Linked DNA regions of Homo sapiens: region 2 is linked to region 1. Evidence: promoter capture Hi-C in human tissues and cell types (Jung and others, 2019). All regions are on one chromosome and are shown on one strand. Each heading gives the region's core, a stretch centred on a gene start or on the middle of the fragment in contact. The rest is flanking DNA. Distances are from core to core; before and after follow the strand shown.

Region 1 (5,504 bases), core at 1,954-4,453:
CAAACTTTATATATTGGGTTTACTTTAAATGAGAAATGCCTGTAGATTATTTACACATTTCTGAATATTGACTACAATTGTCCTCTTCAATATTTTAATTAAATTCTTCCAAATAATTACTGAAACTTTTTTTCATAATGTCAACCTGAAGATGTTTCAGTGTAAGGCAATTCTTTAAACTACCTAATGTGAAATAATTGTCTTCCAGAAGTATAAATGGTGACAATATTTTAGAAGATCCTATTCTATTTTATTTGTTTATTTTTATTTTTTCATTTATTTTTGAGACGAAGTCTTCCTCTGTCACCCAGGCTGGAGTGCAAATGAATGGCCTGATCTTGGCTCACCGCAACCTCTGCCTCCCAGGTTCAAGCAATTCTCCTGCCTCAGCCTGCTGAGTAGCTAGAATTACAGGTGCCCGCCACCATGCCCAGCTAATTTTTGTATTTTTAGTAGAGACGAGGTTTCACCATGTTGGCCAGGCTGGCCTCAAACTCCTGACCTCAGGTAATCCGCCCATCTCGGCCTCCCAAAGTGCTGGGATTACAGGCGTGAGCCACTGCGCCCAGGCTTATTCTATTTTAGAAGCTTGCCTGTATATAAAAAATTACTTATCTTACTAGGTTTCCATATACTCACCAACAATTGCCTATTAAAGACATTTATTTAACAATTTTTGAATTTCCAGACTTACTTTTTCAATAATATTCCTCCTTCTCAAACATCTTTGATTTATATTAATGTCTAGTAATACTTTCATTCATTGCCCTCTAACAACCTGCCCTGCACTCTGCTAATGAGTTCTTTATGTAACTTATCTTACTTAATCTTGTTTCAGACAAAAGAAAGTGAAGCTCAGAAAGACTGAGCCAAAAGCATTCATAAATGGTAAAGCCAGCATCTGCATATAGGTCCTCTGCCTGCAAGCTCCACACTTGTTTTAACAATGCTACACCTGACAAAATAAGCATCTTGTCATTCCTAGGTGAAAGCTTATAGGTATGTTTTCTCCCTCAGATGCTATTTTGTAACTTCTAACATGTTTTTATTTTTATCTTGGTAAATTTTTCACCTAAGAAAATAAAATTAATACAGAAATTTTAAATATATCTATGTTTTAAAGGTAAAAACAAAGTTTATAAATTTTAACTTCATTTTTGTCATTTAAAAATTATTAATAATTCTTCAAAGTTTTACCACATGAGCATATTTAGGTATAAAGAGAAAATACTACTGGATAGCTGCTATTATATGTGCAAACTGTCAAAGAAAAATAAAATAAGCCATGTTAATAAATCCTTGTTAATAAGATTTACTGTTTAAAACATGTTTTTTTAATTTGACCTAGAAGAGACAAAAAGGCTACATGTGTAAGAATCTCTATTCAACAGAACTATTTTATATTAGTATTTTCATTCACTTTAATTTTTACAAAAGAATACATATTTAATTTGCTTAATCTCAATTTTACAACATCTGATAATCAACATTTTTTTCTTTCAAAATGTTTTGGCCAATAAATCCTCTTATGCTAAATAATATGTTACTTTTTCTTCAATTCATTTCAGCTATTTCCAAACTATTAATCAAGTGAACTCCTACTAATTGCTTAGTCAGTAGTATTTACATCTGTCATTATTTGCTAATCTTTTGGATTTTAGAAATATTTGTGTTTTTTCCTTTAGCAAAGTAGAATGCAAATACTACACATCTTCTGATTTGTATAGATCCTAGTCCACGATGTAACTTTTCAAATGCAGAAATAAGCCATTTGTTATTTGGATAAATATACTTTTTCTGGGTATATTTTCCTGCAGATAAACTACCATTCAGAAAAGTTTATATTACATTTTTTTCTTGGTAATCTACTCCTATTTGGGGGGGGGGGCTCTTTTTGATATACACTACTGTATCCAATTACTATCAAATTAATATTATAACATGTTGAAATCATGAATATTTTAGTTATCTATATTTTCCCTTGCTAAGTTCAATTTCCCAATGATTAAAAAATGGTACTTTTAGTCTCAAATTTTAAGTTAAATAAACTAGTTGTTCCTGCAAAATGACTGTAATTCAAATGAAAATTGTTAACACGTTTAGAAGAACAAATAAATTACCTTAGTAAAAATTTAGACATTTTCTAGTATTATGTACTGTAATTTTACCTAAACTATGACAGGAAGGCAACAACTGTCACACATTTTCAAAATATATACAGCACTTCCAGTAAGATAGTCGGAACTGCTGGTATTTCTACTCACACTGATCATGTGAGGAATATTATCACGGGCATCATCACCTTAGAAAATAAAAATCAGCTAGCTATGCAAATTTTAAGTATTTTTATACAGTAAATTTTACATATAAGAATAATCTGAGGGAAGGAAACTGATATTTATCTCATTACCCTTGTTGCAGTTGGGTATAAAAACGTCCACCACTCCCATTTTGAATCATTTGCCGTACAGAAAATACAGGACATTTTAATTTCTCATGATGGCAGGTTAGGGAGAGAAAGGCTTGTTATTTCTAAGAGCAAGAAACTACAGTTTTATAGGATTGAACACCTGGAGGCGTAAACATTTTATAAATCACTGAATTCTAATTACATAGTAGTTTATACGCCAGATACAACATACGTCAAAAGCCTATCTTGTTCTAAGCGGGCAGCCATCCACCGGCGTCTACCTACCGAAGCCATTTCTGCTTTTTACCAGCGACGCTGGAACAGTGTTATTGTGGGATATGTTCAGTGTTGAACAGGCTCCCAGGGCACGGCTGTTACTTTGGAGGTTATGCTGGGGTACAGAAGTTAGGCTGGGGCAGGGCCATCCACCTAGGAGGGCCCAGCACAGTCTGGGCAACCACACCGGCGGGCCGTTTTGCTCACAGCCCCACCGCGCCGGGCAGCGTCTGCAGCTGCTGCGTGCGAGACCCAGAGGCTCCGGTCAGCGCGCCGGCCGCAGGGAGTGCGAGCACTTGTGAGCCCCGCGCCGGGCCGGTGAAGTCTGGTGCTGCCGAGCCCGCTTAGAAAGCACGGCCGCGCGCTGTCGGACGCAGGCCCACAGGCCCAGCCGACCCAGGCAGCAATTTTCCTAGCCCCGCCGCCGTTGCCAAGGCGACCGCCGCCGAATGTTCCCGCCGCGGGCTCCGCCCCCCGGCCAATCGGACCGGCGCTCGGTGAAGCCCAGATTCTCTTTGTTCCGCAGCCATTTCAGGCCCCGGACAGGAGGCAGTGCCGCTTCGGCCGAAGGCCCGAGCGCCCGAGGCGTCTGGGATGGTGTGGGACCGGGTAGGTGGCGTGAGGGTGCGCGGCCCCGAACTGCAGGGGCGGGAACGGAGGCTGGGAGCGCCGAGCTGCCTGACGCGCCTACGGGAGAGACGCCGGGCTCGCCCGCTCTCTCGGCGCCTGCCCGGCCGTTTGAAGCCGAGAGGCAGCGGCGGCGCGGTTCTAACCCCAACAGCTGCCCGCCCAGGCGCCCTGCGGGACCCGGGTAGGGAGCAGGCGACGGCGGCTCCTCAAGCGTCCGAGGATCCCGTTAGGGGCGGCAGGAGCCCGTTACAAGGGGCGGGAAGGGAAGGGTCTTACATTCAGGGGAGCGTTTGCCTCGCCTGTTAAGCTGTGGCGTTTGAGGGCCCTTGAGTGCTGCAGTCGGCTGCCCCGGGACGGCTGCCTTTCACTGGTTCTGGGCGCTGGCCGGCGCTGCCCGAGATGGGCCAGTCTTTGTCCCGCCCTGGGCCCCTCTGCCCGGGTCTCCTGCGTCCGCACACAGCGCCCATCGTCCTTACATGCAGCTTGCCGTTCTCTTCCTCCCGGCGGTTCTTTCTCCTTGGGGCCTCTTGGCCTCACGACATGTTTACATAATGTTTGTGACTGTACGAGTTTTGCGTGGGCTTGTGGGTTTTGCCCTTCTACCTCCACTCCCATGCGTACAAGCAACAGGGAACAGCTGCTGAGGAGCAGATTGGCCACCACAATCAAGCTATTTTCGGAATGACTTTCTTTAAAAATGATCGCGTGTTGCTTACTGATTTTAAAAATCAACTGGATTTTGCAAGGATTGCTTAGAGTTTAAGTCTGTTATCTTAATCGCTAATCAGGATGGTCTATCAGTAGATGTAAATGTAGAAATTTGAAATTGGAGGCTATCTACAAATTGATTTTGACAGCTGTATTAAGAAGCTTAATAACTGTCCTTTGAAACAGTAATGACTTAAATGATGAATGTGTAAGTGGTACTTTTTTTACCCTAAAGAAAAGATACTTTTAAAATTGCAAGATGTATGGTGTAATAGGTGTTTGGAAATGAAGGTTGTAAAATGGCTGTCCTGACGTACTACTCACTTTTAGAATAACAAAAGTTCCTGCAGCTTTTTAAGTTTCCCTGTTATATCAAAGCTTTCATGTTAGAGTGGTGAAGAAGCTATGTTTAGTGGAAAAGGGGAAAGTTCCGTTTTTTGGGAAAGGATCTGTTTTCCACTTTCACCTTACCTGGCACCGTAGTTGTTCCTAGAGAAGGCTGTGCCAGGATGAAAATTAGCAACCACAAAAGGGAAACAATAGTTTGTAGGTGCAGATATCTTTTTTAGTCTCTAGCTATGCAGTGCATAAATTTATACTAGCTTGGCAGTACGATTTTTACTTCATGCAATTTAACGTGAGCCTAATGAAGTACTAGTGTTCTGTTTTCTTTTTCCTAAAAGGGGCCGCCACCCTTGATGTGGCTGCATCTTTCTCCTAGTCAGGAATTATTAAATTCCTCCCACTGAAATATCTATAAAAATCTTGTTTGCACTTCTACCTCAACTCTCAGTGGCTTTATTACCATTATATAATGTGAGCAGAATAAGATTTTTGTAAAAATACATGATTCTAGTTGTAAGCTTTTCCAATATCAACATTTCTTATTGTATTCATTGTTTTTATGACTGTAGTTTTGCTTATTTATAATTTTAAAGCCATTCCATGAACTCAGTTTTTCTAAATGTTGTAAATGAGCTACTACATTGAAATGTAAACATCTGTATTTAGAAGAATTTCTTGAATTTTAACCATGTTGGATTCTGCAAATGTTTTTTTAAGAAAAGAAACCTGGTTATAAAGTGACGTCAAACCAAGTGACATAGGTAATGAAATAAATGAATTTATCAAATATAAACTGCAGAGAGGAGCACAGCAGTAAGTGGGGGAGTTCTTTTTATTGGCCAGGGTATAAATTGTGATATTTTTTCCTGAGATTGATATTTGAATACATATTGGTGCTAAAAAGATATCTTCCCCCCTCAAAACAGTTTGGTTTACCAGCAAAAGGATGAGAAAGCTGAGAGAATCAAAGAAACTGATGAGGTTTTCAAAAACAATGGCGAACAATGCCATCCTCAAAGAGGAAGGATCAGAAACAGTGAAATTCCCCTGGAGGTTGAGGATTTTTCTTAGTTGACCCTATTCAGCCATTGCCATGGTAAATCTGTTGAGTGTTGGCAGGTGAAGGAGTCTTCTG
Region 2 (5,333 bases), core at 1,053-3,552, 1.0 Mb before region 1:
CCATGTTGCCCGGGCTGGTCTCAAACTGAGCTCAAGTGATCCACCAGCCTCGGCCTCCCAATGTGCTGAGATTACAGGCATGAGCCACCACGCCCTGCCTGGCACACACTCTAAAGCCTTCAGGGGCTTCCTAACTGAGCTCCTTCCCATGGCCTGCCAGGCCCTCCATGCTCTGGCTCCTGGGTGCTCCTCATTTCCTGCCACTCCCCAACACTCCTGGTGACCCAGCCACACTGGTCTCCTTGCTGCTCATCGGACACATTGCGTCGTTCCTATCTCAGGGCCTTTTCCTCCCTGCTGCTTCTTCCAGGAATGCTCTTCCCACAGCTTTGAGTTTGGGTTGCTCCCTCACTTCATCCACACCCCTACTCTAATGTTATTTCATCAAAGAGATCTCCCTAGCCTCCCTTTCTGGCACCCCACTGCAACTCACTATCCTTTTACCCTGACTTACTTTTATTTGTAGCCTGTATCACTACCTACCATGTAACTTATCTATTTATCTGTTTATCATCTGCCTTCCCCTTCTTCCCCACCACACTATAAAATCCATTAGGACAAAATCATTGTCTTGTTCAACACTGTATCACCAGGACCACAGAGTGCCTGAATTATGGTCAGTGCTCAAAAGGGATTTGTTATCAACTGCGCTCTGTCATTTTACACATCAGATACTGAGGTCAGGCAAGGTATAAAGAGAGCAGGGGCAGGAGCAGTGGCTTCCCCTCTGACTGCTCCCACCATGCCAACCATTTCTATTTCTGAGCATGAGTAGAACTCACTACCCATACCCGGCCGCCCCATACCTGACTGTGTACTGCCTTGTCCTGGTCTCGAATCACTACAAATCACGCTTGGCAAGTTTGTATCGAAAGCAATGTTTGCTTTAGTGGGATCTGGCAAACCCAGGGTCCCCAAAGACCACTAAGCAGTCACCAGCACTGAGTTTTAGAAATGGCTGGCTTGTTTTATTACCAGTTAATAGCATTTGTATTTGTGCTTTTGCAAATAACCATGAGAAATCAGTCATCAGGCATGAATGATATGAGAAAATTAAGGACAAGGTCCTAAAAAATGGGCTGGGGATGAGGACTACGGTTCAGTAACTGGATCAAGCGTGTGAAGACTCAGGGGAAAGAATTTACATGGGGTATATGCTGTTCAAGAAGGACTAAAATTCGGGGCCAGATGCTACTGCATCTCCTCCTCCCCCACCACACACACACATTCGAAGGGCTATGGAGGGCACCTTTTTTCTTTAGGGAAAATTATCCCATTTCATTCATCCTACAAACATGAGGAGTGGCTGTGTTTTCAGAAGTGCCAATGAAAATCCCAAGTCCTGGGTCTCTGAGAGATACTTTCTTATGTGGTTAAGAAGAATCAGGATGCATAAACTTGAATCCTTTCTCTACCATTTATTTGCTCTAAGATCTTGGGCAAGTTATGTAAAGTTCTCTCTGTTTTCTATCTGTTAAATGGAAATAAAAATGATACCAGTTGTATGGGTTGTTGTTGAGATTAAATAAAGAACTGCTGGTAAAGTGCTTTTTACATTATCTGCCAAGCAGAAAGGGCTCAATGCATTTTAAATAAGTAAATATATATCCCTGAGTAAAGCAGGGAGGAACCAGCCCAGCCAATGGCTTCCCTGTTTTCAAAACCACCCTGCTTGTCCTTCCAGAGGAATAAGACCAAATTCCTGGGGATTTTGGTTCACTCCTTGGTCAGCAACCCTGCAGATTTATTTTTTCTAGTCATTTCAGGCTCTGTGTCTAATGATGCCAAGTTACCTGGCTTTATGGTGAGTATGAAGCTGAACGCTAACTGCGGAAACTCCCCGGGCCAGGCAAAGCCTTGGAAAGTGAAAGTGGCTGTGAAGGCAAAGGTGCCACCTGGTCTTTCCCTAGGGAGAGCAAGACCCCAAACTGATCCTTATCATGAGATTCTGGGTACTGAGGTGAACTTGGGCTTGCAGCTTTGCAGTGAGTTTGGAGCCCACCTCTTTGAAGGCAGATTTCATGCATGCTTTCTTTGTGTAAAGTATTTTGAGAAAGTAGATGTATTTGAAGATGTTAATTTGGGCAGAGGACTATCCTCAGGTAATGCTGGGTGCACTTGTGGGAGTGGGGCCAAGCACCAGCTACTGCAGATAAATGTGCTGGCTCTGATCTCTGGTACCTCTGTTGAGTGACAAGCTCTTACAGAAACAAAGGAAGTGGCGGTATAGCAGGGACAGTCCCTTGTGGGGACTGTAAATGGCTGAGACTGCTACCATCTGCTCTTCTCGATTCAAATATTTAACAGGAGGTTGAAAACACAGAAGTTCCCATGAAATTACCAGTTTTTTTCCCCCGAACTTAATTTCTGTCAAGGAGAGGGAGGGGTCCCTTGTGTTAAACGTCTGCTTTTCAGTTTTCGAGACTGCCAGGAGATGGCGCCAGGGCTTGGTTCTTAATGGGTTCCTTGGCGCACCAAAGAAAAGACATGCTCGGCGTGGGGATGGAGGCCTCCGTCTCGGCGTTTCCATGTAACTCGTTTCTCAGGATATCTGAACAGAAACCCTGGCCTTGACATTCCTTGGGTTAAATGGGCTTCTTTTTTCATCTGGCCGGGAATTGAGTTTCTGGTCATGGCGCGCTACATTTTCAGTCATCGATTCTCCTCAGAGGGTCGCACGACTGATGTTGTCTCTGGACATATGCTAATAAGAAACCAGAGAGAGCTTGGAGAGGGATTTTGAATGCATTAGAACTTTCCAGCGTGTTGCATAAAAAATAGAAAGTAGAGGTCATGTTATTTGGGAAATAGTAGACGTGTTGTATCATACCGTTTTTTTTTTTCTTCTTTTCAGACCCTTTTCACTGATCTGTTGCTCTTAGCCCAGAAAACGGTATAGCTGATGCCAGAAATTACAGCACGTTCTGCTAGGAAGTGTTTACACTTCAGGGCTGAACTCCTAGCACGATTAATAAACATCACCACCACAACATAAGAACGACTGAGCATGTGGTACCTATCCGCTCATTTAACCCTTACAGTAATCTGGGATATGTCCTTTATGATGTACTTTTTTCAGGCTAGAAAACTGAAGCTTAGGTTCAATAATTTGCCTAAAGTCATTCAACGTGTGATCAGAAGAGTAGAGATTGAAACTCAGACCATCTGACTCCAGGCCCACAAGGTTGTCCCCGGCACCCTACTAGAACAGCAATTTTGGGGGTAACGGGGCACCCCGGAGGCAGTGCTCAGTGGTTCCAGGTAGCTTGGTGTGCAGAGAGGCACCCAGGTATAGAGATGTGGTAGTCGTTTAGTGTTCACTGTGTCATGTGAGCGCTGTGTCATGTCCTGTGGCTTCTCTCAACACCGTGTGCAGAATCCAAACTTCCCCAGGCCTGCAAGCTCTGAGCTCTGTTCCCCTCTCCTATCCTGCTTGGTCACCCTCCAGGCATCTTTCTCCTTCCAGAACTTGCCAAGCCCATTTCTGCCTCAGGCTCTTTGCACCTGAGCTCTCTTCCCTTAACTCCTCACTGGCTGGCTCTTTTTCCTCAGGGCTCAGCGCAGACAGCCCTTTCTCACCCCATGATGTAAGGAGGCTCCCTCTGCCTCAAGGCCTCCTGACTCCTCACTCTGTTTTATTCCTTTATCGCACTTGTAATGATCTCTAAGTATCTTGTTTGCCTGGGTATCGTCTGTTTTTCTCTCATTGGAATGTAAACTCCATGAGGAGGGGATTGGACAGTCTGGTTCATTGCTGTATTCCTGGAACCTAGAACATGCCAGAAACAAAGGAGGTGCTTAATAAACATTTATTGAATAAATATGATGGGGGAATGTGATAAAAGCAGCAGGAGTTGTGGTCCCACCTGTCAGGAGGCTCACAGGACAACGAGAGAGCCCAGGTTGGCATGAAACAACTGAAGATCAATCATGGCAAGGGTGGTAGTGGCCCAGAATAGTGGTCACAAAAACAGATTCTGGGGCTTACCCACCTTGGGAGGCTGAGGCAGAAAGACGGTTTAAGCCCAGGAGTTTGAGAACAACCTGGGCAACAAAGTGAGACCCTGTCTCTACAAAAAAATAAAAAAAATTATCCTGGTATGGTGGTGTGACCCTGTAGTCCTAGCTACCTGGGAGGCTGAGGTGGGAGGATTGATTGAGCCCAGGAGGTCGAGGTTGCTGTGAGTTGTGATTGTACCACTGTACTCAAGCCTAGGTAACAGAGTAAGATCTTGTCTCTAAAATAAAATAAAATAAAAATAGATAAATCCTGACTCCAGTACTCACTGGCTGTGTGATCTTGGCCAAGTTATTTAGCTCTTTCATGCCTCAATTTTCTCATCAGTAAGTTGAAGATAATAATATTAGTAATATTAATACCCACTCATGGAATTGTTTAAGGATTAAATGAGATATATATGAGTGCTTGGAATGGTGACTGGCACATAGTGCTCTATAAATATTTTTTAAGTAAATAAAGGTATAATTAAGCAGAAACCTATGGCTTTAGAAATTCAGAAAAATGAAAATGCCAGTGTTGGGGAAAGCCCTGTTTCTTGGAGGTGGTTGGATTTGGATTGAGGAAGACAGGGAGTCTGAGGGGATATTTGCACTTGCTCTGGTGCCTCATTTCTATGTAAATATCTATTCAAGAAATATTTGTTTATTGATTTATTTTTGTTCAATAAATATTTATTGAGCATTTATTATGTGTCAGTGCCTAGGATGCAGCAATAAAATTGTAAACAGTACAAAATGAATTTCATTGATTTAAAAAAATTTTTTTTCTTTTTTTTGAGGAAGATGCTCTTTTTTCTCATTTCTTGAATTGGATTCTTGACTTGTATACTTTCAGGAAATATTTATTAAGCATGAGCAAAAAATGGTTAGTAAATCATCCCTCCCAGCCCCACCCCCAAAGTATGCTAAGAATTTATTATATATAATGGGAGTTTTTTAAAAAAACGTTAGTATTGTTTGGACTTAACATACAGAATGATGCTCTAGAAAACCATAGCCTCTCTTCTTCCTCCAGCTACAGTCTTTCCTGTCCCAGTTAGGGTACAGGTTCTGAAATGAACCTCGACTGGCTCTAGGTGACTCTGCTGGAGAGAAGTTCAAATTCCTCACTCTCTCCTCTTAGTTCGATTCAACCAACATGCACTGAGAGCTAACTTTATGCAAGGCAGACATGCGAGTGTAGAGAGGGTAATAAAAATGACATCCTTGATAACACAAGCATCTAGAAGAAGTTTAGAATGAATAGTGGCCCCAGGCCTGCAGTGCAGAGAGGAACCATGATGGGAGCCGGAGGGGAACGGACAGAAGGCCCA

The links. The method cuts DNA at HindIII sites, captures the fragments that hold promoters and counts their contacts. A contact is called where the count stands out against the background at its distance.
Region 2: a contact is called between a fragment that was not itself captured here and the fragment with the promoter of TNPO1 in region 1, in 1 of the 25 tissues and cell types used here (dorsolateral prefrontal cortex).

What each region holds. Positions count from the first base shown.
Region 1 is chr5:72,813,458-72,818,961 of GRCh38, forward strand. It overlaps TNPO1 (transportin 1), which reads left to right and starts at 3,204. Exons shown (of 25, transcript NM_002270.4): 1 at 3,204-3,295. The coding sequence starts at 3,281. TNPO1-DT (TNPO1 divergent transcript) reads right to left here and starts at 3,091. Exons shown (of 9, transcript NR_186518.1): 1 at 2,696-3,091. RefSeq lists enhancers at 2,771-2,850, 3,931-3,980 and silencers at 3,111-3,210, 3,251-3,470. The HindIII fragment of the contact is 3,854 bases long and covers 791-4,644 here.
Region 2 is chr5:71,780,668-71,786,000 of GRCh38, forward strand. No RefSeq gene overlaps it. Among named protein-coding and RNA genes, the nearest start is that of CARTPT, 64 kb to the left of the region's middle. The HindIII fragment of the contact is 4,053 bases long and covers 277-4,329 here.